3 separate regions of the Homo sapiens genome follow, and regions 1 and 2 are each linked to region 3. The links are contacts of gene promoters, found by promoter capture Hi-C in blood cells and fetal thymus (Javierre and others, 2016). All regions are on one chromosome and are shown on one strand. Each heading gives the region's core, a stretch centred on a gene start or on the middle of the fragment in contact. The rest is flanking DNA. Distances are from core to core; before and after follow the strand shown. Region 1 holds the start of TAOK3 (TAO kinase 3). Region 2 holds the start of WSB2 (WD repeat and SOCS box containing 2). Region 3 holds the start of TRA-TGC3-2 (tRNA-Ala (anticodon TGC) 3-2).

The links. The method cuts DNA at HindIII sites, captures the fragments that hold promoters and counts their contacts. A CHiCAGO score of 5 or more calls a contact.
Region 1: a contact is called between the fragment with the promoter of TAOK3 here and a fragment that was not itself captured in region 3, in 1 of 17 cell types (total CD4 T cells). The highest score is 10.6, in total CD4 T cells.
Region 2: the fragment with the promoter of WSB2 here is called in contact with a fragment that was not itself captured in region 3 in 2 of 17 cell types (M2 macrophages and total CD4 T cells); the score reaches 6.5 in M2 macrophages.

What each region holds. Positions count from the first base shown.
Region 1 is chr12:118,371,473-118,374,250 of GRCh38, reverse strand. It overlaps TAOK3 (TAO kinase 3), which reads left to right and starts at 1,344. Exons shown (of 21, transcript NM_016281.4): 1 at 1,344-1,603. RefSeq lists an enhancer at 851-900 and silencers at 1,221-1,470, 2,255-2,314, 2,415-2,504. The HindIII fragment of the contact is 12,374 bases long and covers 652-2,778 here.
Region 2 is chr12:118,059,760-118,062,459 of GRCh38, reverse strand. WSB2 (WD repeat and SOCS box containing 2) reads left to right here and starts at 1,281. Exons shown (of 9, transcript NM_018639.5): 1 at 1,281-1,424. The coding sequence starts at 1,412. It overlaps LOC124903030 (a long non-coding RNA gene), which reads right to left and starts at 1,000. Exons shown (of 2, transcript XR_007063479.1): 1 at 780-1,000. RefSeq lists a silencer at 1,822-1,871. The HindIII fragment of the contact is 4,146 bases long and covers 1-2,477 here.
Region 3 is chr12:124,919,932-124,922,631 of GRCh38, reverse strand. TRA-TGC3-2 (tRNA-Ala (anticodon TGC) 3-2) reads left to right here and starts at 806; the gene lies at 806-877. RefSeq lists enhancers at 1,011-1,330, 897-1,575, 1,411-1,600 and a cis regulatory region at 1,185-1,355. The HindIII fragment of the contact is 6,001 bases long and covers 1-2,700 here.

The DNA of each region.
Region 1 (2,778 bases), core at 95-2,594, 6.5 Mb after region 3:
CACCATGCCCGGCTAATTTTTGTATTTTTCGTACAGACGGGATTTCACCATGTTGGCCAGGCAGGTCTGGAACCCTTGACCTCAGGTGATGAATGGCGTATGATTCTTAAAACACTAGAAGAAACATGTATACTGTTTAGAACACAAACACATTTTGTCAGCTGGAGTTAAAAAGTTAACAATCGAGGGTTCTCTGAGAACTAAGGCCTGTATACATCTGACAAAACTTAGGATCAAAATGTGTTCCTGAGACAATTTCTTCATAAAATGCTAAATTCTAAAGTCCATAAACTTACTTTTGGCGTTAAGAGTAAGGAAAGCAGTTTTCTGTTTCCGGTGTTGATTTGATCAGCATATCCAGTTTCACAAAAATAACACAAATGGGTCTTAGTAGCATGATGCACTTTCACCCCTGGCAGGCACTATCCTTTAGCGTGGATCAAGAGGAGTCTCTGATTATCACATGTTAAACCTGGGTCAAAGCTCGTTATCCTTTGGCCACACGTTCACATAGAATCATTAAAACCTGTGGCCCTGGAAAAAGGTTATATTGAATAGCTTTGCTGAAACCTTGTTAAGCTAATAATAGGGTTCCCCTACCACAGTCTTCCTACTGTCATAAAAACCTACAAACTGAAAATTTCTAAAGCTTTGTCCTTGCACCTATCAAAATGTGCCCCGCATTGAACGCTTAGTTGGGCAAAGTATGCACCTAGTACTGTATATAGATTTTTTTTCCCCCAACGGTATCAAACTGACGGCTGCTGAACTCAATTCAAGGAGAGGCAACTCCCTTGCAAGAGATTTTAAAAAGAAATGGTTTAAATCCAGGAAATTTTTACAAATCCTGGGCAAATTAATGCTATATTAGTTCATGGCAGAATTACTAAGAAAGCTGTGCAAGGTCTAGCGAGAGACTGGGGTCCTCCCCAAAGGCTCTAACATGGTGGTCCCTGGGAATCTCCCAAGAAAAGTAAAGGCGTGGGGAGAAGCGCCATGAACTTTGACCGGAGAGCAGCACAAACAAGACTGACCGCACCCCAGGCGGGCCCGTAGGTTACTAAAGTTGCAAGGTCTTCCGCGTCTGAGGAGACCCCGCCCTGCCCTGTCCCGCCCATCGACAACTCCGCCAATCCTCGGGTTCCATCGACCGCTCGGCTTCCCAGGCTCCATCAATCAAATACCTATATACGGCCCCGGCCCTGTGCCCCGCGATCAGGGAAGGTCAGTAGAGAGCCTATTGGAGCCGAGCTTGGGGCGTGGTCCGGGGCAGGGGGCGGGCGGACTGAGACGGTGGGGCGGGGCGTGCTCGGCGCAGTCCGGTGCGATTGGCCACCCCTGGCAGGAGCCGCACCTCGGACAGCAGCAGCGGCGGCGGCCGCGGGAGGGTCCTTGTGGCGCCGGGCGGCGGGGTCCTGCGTGGAGAGTGGGACGCAACGCCGAGACCGCGAGCAGAGGCTGCGCACAGCCGGATCCGGCACTCAGCGACCGGACCCAAGGATCCGCCGGGGAACAAGCCACAGGAGAGCGACTCAGGAACAAGTGTGGGAGAGGAAGCGGCGGCGGCGGCGCCGGGCCCGGGGGTGGTGACAGCAGGTCTGAGGTGAGAGCACCGGGGCGCGGGGCATGACAGTGGGAGCCGAGGCGGCGGGACCCCAGGCAGAGTGAGGGGAGTTGCGGGAGCGGGCTCGACAGTGCAGACTGTGGAGAGGAGACCCCGGGAGGGACCGGGACAGCGGGTGAGGAGAGGGGACTCCGAGAGGGACCGAGGCAGTGGCTCTGAGTGGAGAGGACTCCGAGAGGGTCCAAGACTGAAAGTCTGAGGGGAGGGGTCTCCAAGAGGGGCCGGGACAGTGCGCGTGAGAGGAAGGGACCCGGAGAGGGGCTGGGGTAGTGGGGTGAGGGGTGGGTGCCTCATGAGGCACTAGGATAGGGGGATGAGGGGAGGGGGTCCCCTGAAGGACCAGGTCCCAGAAAAGGTCAGGGACAGCGGGGAGAGGGGAAGGGTCCCCGAGAGGGGCCGGCACTGAGAGTCTGAGAGATGGGGACCCCGAGAGGGGCTGGGACAGCACCCGGGGAGAGGAGACCCCGAGGTGAGGGGAGGGGACCCAGAGAGAATCCAGGACAGAGTAAAGAGAGGGGACCGGTCAGGGGATGTGAAGACAGGGGATCCCCAGAGGGCTTAGAACAGAGTGTGAGAAGACCCCAGGAAGGGCCAAGACAGTGGGAGAAGAGGAGGGGTCCCGGAAGGGGGCTGGGCTGAGACAGCGGGGCTGAGAGCAGGACACCTAGAGAGAGGCCGGGACAGCGGGTGGGAGCAGGGTGACCCCGAGAGGGGCCAGGACAGCGGGGTGAGAGGAGGGGACCCCCAGAGGGCTCGGGACAGCGCATGCGAGCGTGGGACTCCGAGAGGGGCTTTGAGCGTCGGGTGCAGGCGCGGACCCCGAGGGAGGAGCGGTGCCCCATGGGTGCGGGTCGGGCCCCCAGTCACATAGCGGGGGCCCGGCGTGAGCAGCGAGGGAGCGGGCGGGGGGTCGCGCCCGCTGAGTTGCGGGAGCCCCCCCAAGAACGGCTGCGGCGGGGAGCCTGGGTCGCAGTCGCGGCGTCGGGCAAATAGGAACCGGCTGCAGCGCAGACGAGTGGAGCGGGGAGGTGCTCCCAGGGTCTGGCATCAGCGACCTCCCTGAGGGTGGAGTGTGAGCCCCCGGGACTCCGGGGGACTCCGGAGCCGGATTATGTCATGAAACATCTCTGAAGTGAAACGCATGGGCTGGAGGA
Region 2 (2,700 bases), core at 32-2,531, 6.9 Mb after region 3:
GGGGAGAAAGGAATGAGAGGCGGGAGAGTGACTTGAATGAAGCTGACACCAAGAACCGCGGGAAGAGCTTGGGCCCAAAGCAGGAAAGGGAAGCGCTCGAGTTGGGGGTAAGGGGAGGCATTTTGGGGACAATGAGCTGAGCTCAGTAAGAAATCCCCAAGCCACTGATACTACTGGGGACCGGACAACTAAGAAATGGGGTCTTTCAGGCATGAAAAGCCTCCATGATGACTCCTGCCCTGGCCCTGGAATGTTAAAAAGGGGGCGTCTGACCCAAGCGAGCCATTTCTTGAGGCTATGCGGGTAGACAGGGAGAGCAGGTTTCTCAGGGGGACGGGGACAGGCGAGGCTGTCGCCGTAGGTAGGTAAGGGGACAGTCTTCTTCCGAATCGCTCCTGCCCCGTTTTTTATCTCGTTCCCACCCCCACTCCGGTTTTCACCCTGCCCTCCTCTCCCCACCGCCCCGTGTTCTCCTCACTTCCCTCTCCCATTACCGGAGCCATTGAGTAGCCCCCCTTGTTTTACCCTAGCCTTGACCCTCGCCGCACCCCCCAATTCTTACGTCCTCCCCAGCACCCGGTTATTACACCTTCCTTCCACCCCCTCCCCATTTTCCCCTAAGCCCAGCTCTCCCCAGGTTTCTTCTCGGCCAGTATTCCCTCCAACCTATTTCTCCCGCCCCCATTTTTACCCGTTTCCCCCCTCATCGGCCTTCGCATGGCTCCATTTTCACCTGCCCCTCCCCTCGATTTCGCTTCAGCCCCTTTGGTTCCCCTTACCCCCACAGCCCTCGGTCTCCCTCTCTCCGTTCTCCCCGGATCGCCGCTTCCCCTGCTTGGTTTTTCTCTCAGCCCGGCTCTACCACTCTCCAACACCCCCTTTTCCCCTGAGCCCGGCTTCCCCTACTCCGGTTTCTATCGCTCCCCTTTTCCCGGTTTCCCTCAGCTCTGTTCACCTCCCTCCCTTCCCCGTTTTTATCCGGCGCTGGTTCCCCTCAGGACCCCGCACAACCCCTGGGTTTTATCCCGTTCGCGCCCCACCCCGTTTCCGCTCAGCTCCCCCCACCCCTGCCCCATTTTTATCTGGTTCGCGCGTCTTCCCCGCCCCCGTTTCCCCTGAGCAACCCCTCAGCTTTTATCCCGTCAGCGTACCGCCTCCCCGATTTTCCATCTTTTCCCTCAGCTGCCCCCCACCGTTTTTATCCCGTCCGCACCCCCCCTCCGTTTCCCCTGCGCCCCGCCCCCGCGCGTCTCCGCCCGCGCCCACCGCCATGTGACGGGAAGCAGCTGATGGCCTCTCCGGGCGGCGGCGGCGGCCTGGCCGGGGCGGGCGGCGCGGGGGCGGCATGAGGGCCCGCGGCCCGGGGGGCTGAGGCGCCCGCCGCCTGCCGCGGGGGCCGCTCGCGTCCTCCATGGAGGCCGGAGGTGAGTGGGGCCGGGCGCGCCCGTTCCCGCCCGGCGGGGCCCTGGCCCGTTCTCCCCGGGGAGGGGGGAGGCGACCCCGGGGCGGGCTGGGCGGGGTGGGGCGGGGGCTGGACGCGGCGGGGGCGTCCGGCCTGGGAGGTCCGCGCGGGGCCGGCGGGGGTGCGCGCCCGGCGACCAGCTTTGTTTCACTTTCGTTGTCAGTGGCCGCCACCCTGACTCCCGCCGGCGACAGGATCGGGAAGATCGGGCTTCTGCGGGAGGAGATCCCCCGACCGGGACAGAGGGGGCTCCCGGGTGGGACTCGGGGCGGGGGGCACCAAGCCCTAAAACGGAGATCCCCAAGGGGGTGGGTGCCCCTGGGTACCCAGGTGCCAGGGGACGCACTTGCATGTCTGGATGGGAGTCACCTCTGTCCCTCACAAGCTGTGTGATCGTGACAGTGGACAAGCCACTGAACCACCGCCACCCACGTCTCAGTTTTGATCTGCAAAATGGGATAATCCTAGTACCTTCCTCGGAGGGTGGCTGGGACCCGGTAAAAATGGGGTCTGGGGTCTGGGTTCCCTATTGAAACAATCTATTCCCAGCCTCTCCCACTGGAGATTAAGTCAGTGGAGGTGGGGCGGGACTGGAGACGCTGATCCCTGGTGACATGTATGATCAGGCAAATTTAGGATACACTGATGGGTGGGGACCTTGCCTCTATTCTTGTTAACTGCCATCCCCATCAGAAGACAGCGTGGAAGTCAGAGGATATTGGATATACCTCAAGCCAGCCCAGATGAACATAAAATCTCAGTGGGAAAGGTGTGTCTCTTATGCAAGGGGAAAAAAACCCCAAGACGCATGCACGCCTTGGCCCTCTCCCCTCCAACGACCTTCCCTCGGAACCCCACTTGGGATAGATTTAGAATTGATTCCGGGAGTCCCAGGTCTTGAAGGACCCGAGTTTAAATGTAATTTCCTTAGGAGAAATTTTCAGAGCAGGTTCAAGGCCTAGGGCTCAGAATTTGTTCCAGAACTTCATGGTAATCTTGCAGCCAAGTTCAAGCTTCATCCTGGTCTGGAGGGTTCTGATTGCTGATGGCTTGTTACTGTGGGTGGGAAGGTTGAAATCTGGGTATTCCCTGGGGTGGTGTTACTTTTTAATTTAGGAAATGACATTTCTTTGTTTGCTGAAGTCAGGCATTGAGTTAAAGGCAGCTCTCTCTCCTTCCCATCTAGATAAGGGCTTTCTTTTCAGTGAGTGTTACCCGTAGAATTCTTTTTAAAAGGG
Region 3 (2,700 bases), core at 190-2,689:
GGAGGCGGAGGTTGCAGTGAGCCCAGATCATGCCACTGCACTCCAGCCTGGGCGACAGAGCAAAACTCTGTCTCAAAACAAACCAACCAACCAAAAACTAAAAGCCTCTCGCACTCCCGTGTGTATTGCAGCTTTATTCATAAGTGCCTAGATGTGTCCGTCAACAGATACATGGATAGAGAAAATGTGTACATACGCAATAGAATACTATTCGACCTTAAAAAAATACAAAACAAAATGAAATCCTGTCATTTTTCCTCTACGAAACAAAAATAAAAACATGGCTAAGTTTGGGCGACATTACATAAAGTGAAATAAACCGGGCACAGAAAGATAAATACTGCATGATCTCACTCACGTGCGGAAGCTGAAATAGTTGGTCTCACAGAGAGAATAGTGGTTACTGCAGGTAGTGAAGGTGGGGGGAGGTGGGATAGCCAAAGGGGGGTTACTGGATACAAAAGTACAGCTGAATAGGAGGAATAAGTTCCAGTGTCCCTATAGAGTGAATACAACAACTTATTGTACGTTTTCAAATAGCTGGAAGCGTGGATTTTTAATGTCTCCCAGCACAGAGAAATGATACATGTTTGAAGGGATGGATGTGGTCATTGCCCTGATTTGAACATTACAAATTGTGTACATAGATCACAACATCACACCACACCTCATAAATGTGCACAATTGTTATGCGTCCAAACAATAATAAAAACCAAAAATAAAAATGAAACACGTGGAAACAGGAAAAACGCCTTTAAGAATAGAGTATAGCAAGGACTTCCAAAAGCAAGTACAGGAAAGGGAGGGGGATGTAGCTCAGTGGTAGAGCGCATGCTTTGCATGTATGAGGCCCCGGGTTCGATCCCCGGCATCTCCATTGTAGTTTTGTTGCTTTCTGTATTCGTTTTGGTCCGTGGTTCTTTATCATTAAAGTGCCATGGATGTGATTATCATAAGCATTGTGATTCCAGGCACTACTTGGAGCTCAGATTCTCACACCAGGTGTGATCTTCCCATTCTGAAATCTCTAATGTTTCAAATGCACATGAGTTAGAAGAGGCTGATGGGAGTAATCAGCAGAAAAGTGTTAAGGCAAAACCTGACTTGATGACTGAAACCACAGCAAAAGTGAGCAGGATGATCATTTGGGGAGTGTACACCACATCTCGTGCCACCATGATTGTACTGCACTGGCCTCGAGGGCTGTTGACGCATTCTTGGCCATCAGAGGGCAAGTGTGTAAGTTGCTGGAAGGTCTGGGCCCCCCTGTTTGCCATCTCACTCCTCCTCTGCACTGCCACGAACCACCTCATTTGCATGGGAGGAACCCAGAAGCAAACTCACATCCCAGCGGGGCTTTGCTCTCTGCTTCCTCAGCAACACGTCTCCACGGCTGTAATGCAAGTGCAATTTACATTTATATTCATACACTGTGTTCCGGGGTGAGCAGGCCTATGCAAACCTACCCCAAAGGCCAAGGGAGCTGAGAGGCCAAAGAAAGGGGTTGACAAACCCAGTTTCTCAGGAAAAAACATTTATTAGGGACTTACCAACAGAAGCCATAGTCTCAGGGTGGTCATCAGAGGATATAAGGTTTGCTGCGCCATAACCCCCGGCCCAGGGCTTCCATACCATAGGGAAGGAATATATGTAGGACAATTGAAGTTGACCCCTCAAGCAAGGCAAGAATGTTATGTGAATCCGCATAAGGGAAGGATTTATGATCTAGGTTGTTCTGATCTAAGGGCAGAATTTATGGTAACAGTAAAGTAGAAATCTTAGAGACCTTCCTGGAAGAGGCATTAATCGGAAGTTATCTTGGTGGATTAGCAACCAAGATGGAGTTGCTTTCACCTCCACTGTGTTTCTGTGTTTTATCACTGAAAGCAAAAGATGGTGGCTCAGGCCTGTAATCCCAGCACTTTGGGAGGCATGAGGCAGGAGAATTGCTTGAGGCCAGGAGTTTGAAAGCAGCCTGGGCAACAAAGGGAGACCTTGGCTCGGAAAGGAAAGGAAAGGAAAGGAAGGGGAAGGGGAGGGAAAGGGGAAGGGGAGGGGAGGGGAGATTGATTTACTTGCATGAATGATCTTTAGGCAAAAATAAATACATAAAAATAAATTATATTTTTTAAAGTTTAACCAGTTCCCAGCTCTCTAAATAATAATAAGAATGAAAGAAGGGATTCGGCTGCATTCTGTGGTACAGTTCTTTGCAATTATAATGAATTCCTCACCTGTCAGCCCCTTTCTTTCATTTGACTTGACTTCATGTTTTAAATGGTAAAAGCGTCTAATCCTAGATCTAGAGCTTTCATTTTTGAGATGAAGAAAATGAAACTTGCGAACTGACTCACCAGTTAGGTGGTGACGCATTGGTGACAGCTTGTTTCTAATGAGCTTCAGGAAAGGTTATTTCTCCCTAAATGTCAACAAGGTTTTAGGGGAAAATCATTGAAGATAATTTCTGAAGTCATCAGGCCTAACACAAAACTTACATGCTTCTGTAACTGCCCAACAGTTTCTCCTTGCCCGCTGCCTAGACAGAGCCCATTTATTAGGACAGGGAAACTGTGATCCGCCCACCTCAGCCTCCCGAAGTGCTGGGATTACAGGCGCAAGCCACCTCGCCCTGCCATAATAGAGAACGTTTAATTCACACACAGCTGGCAGTGTGGGAGACGGGAGTTTTACTATTACTCA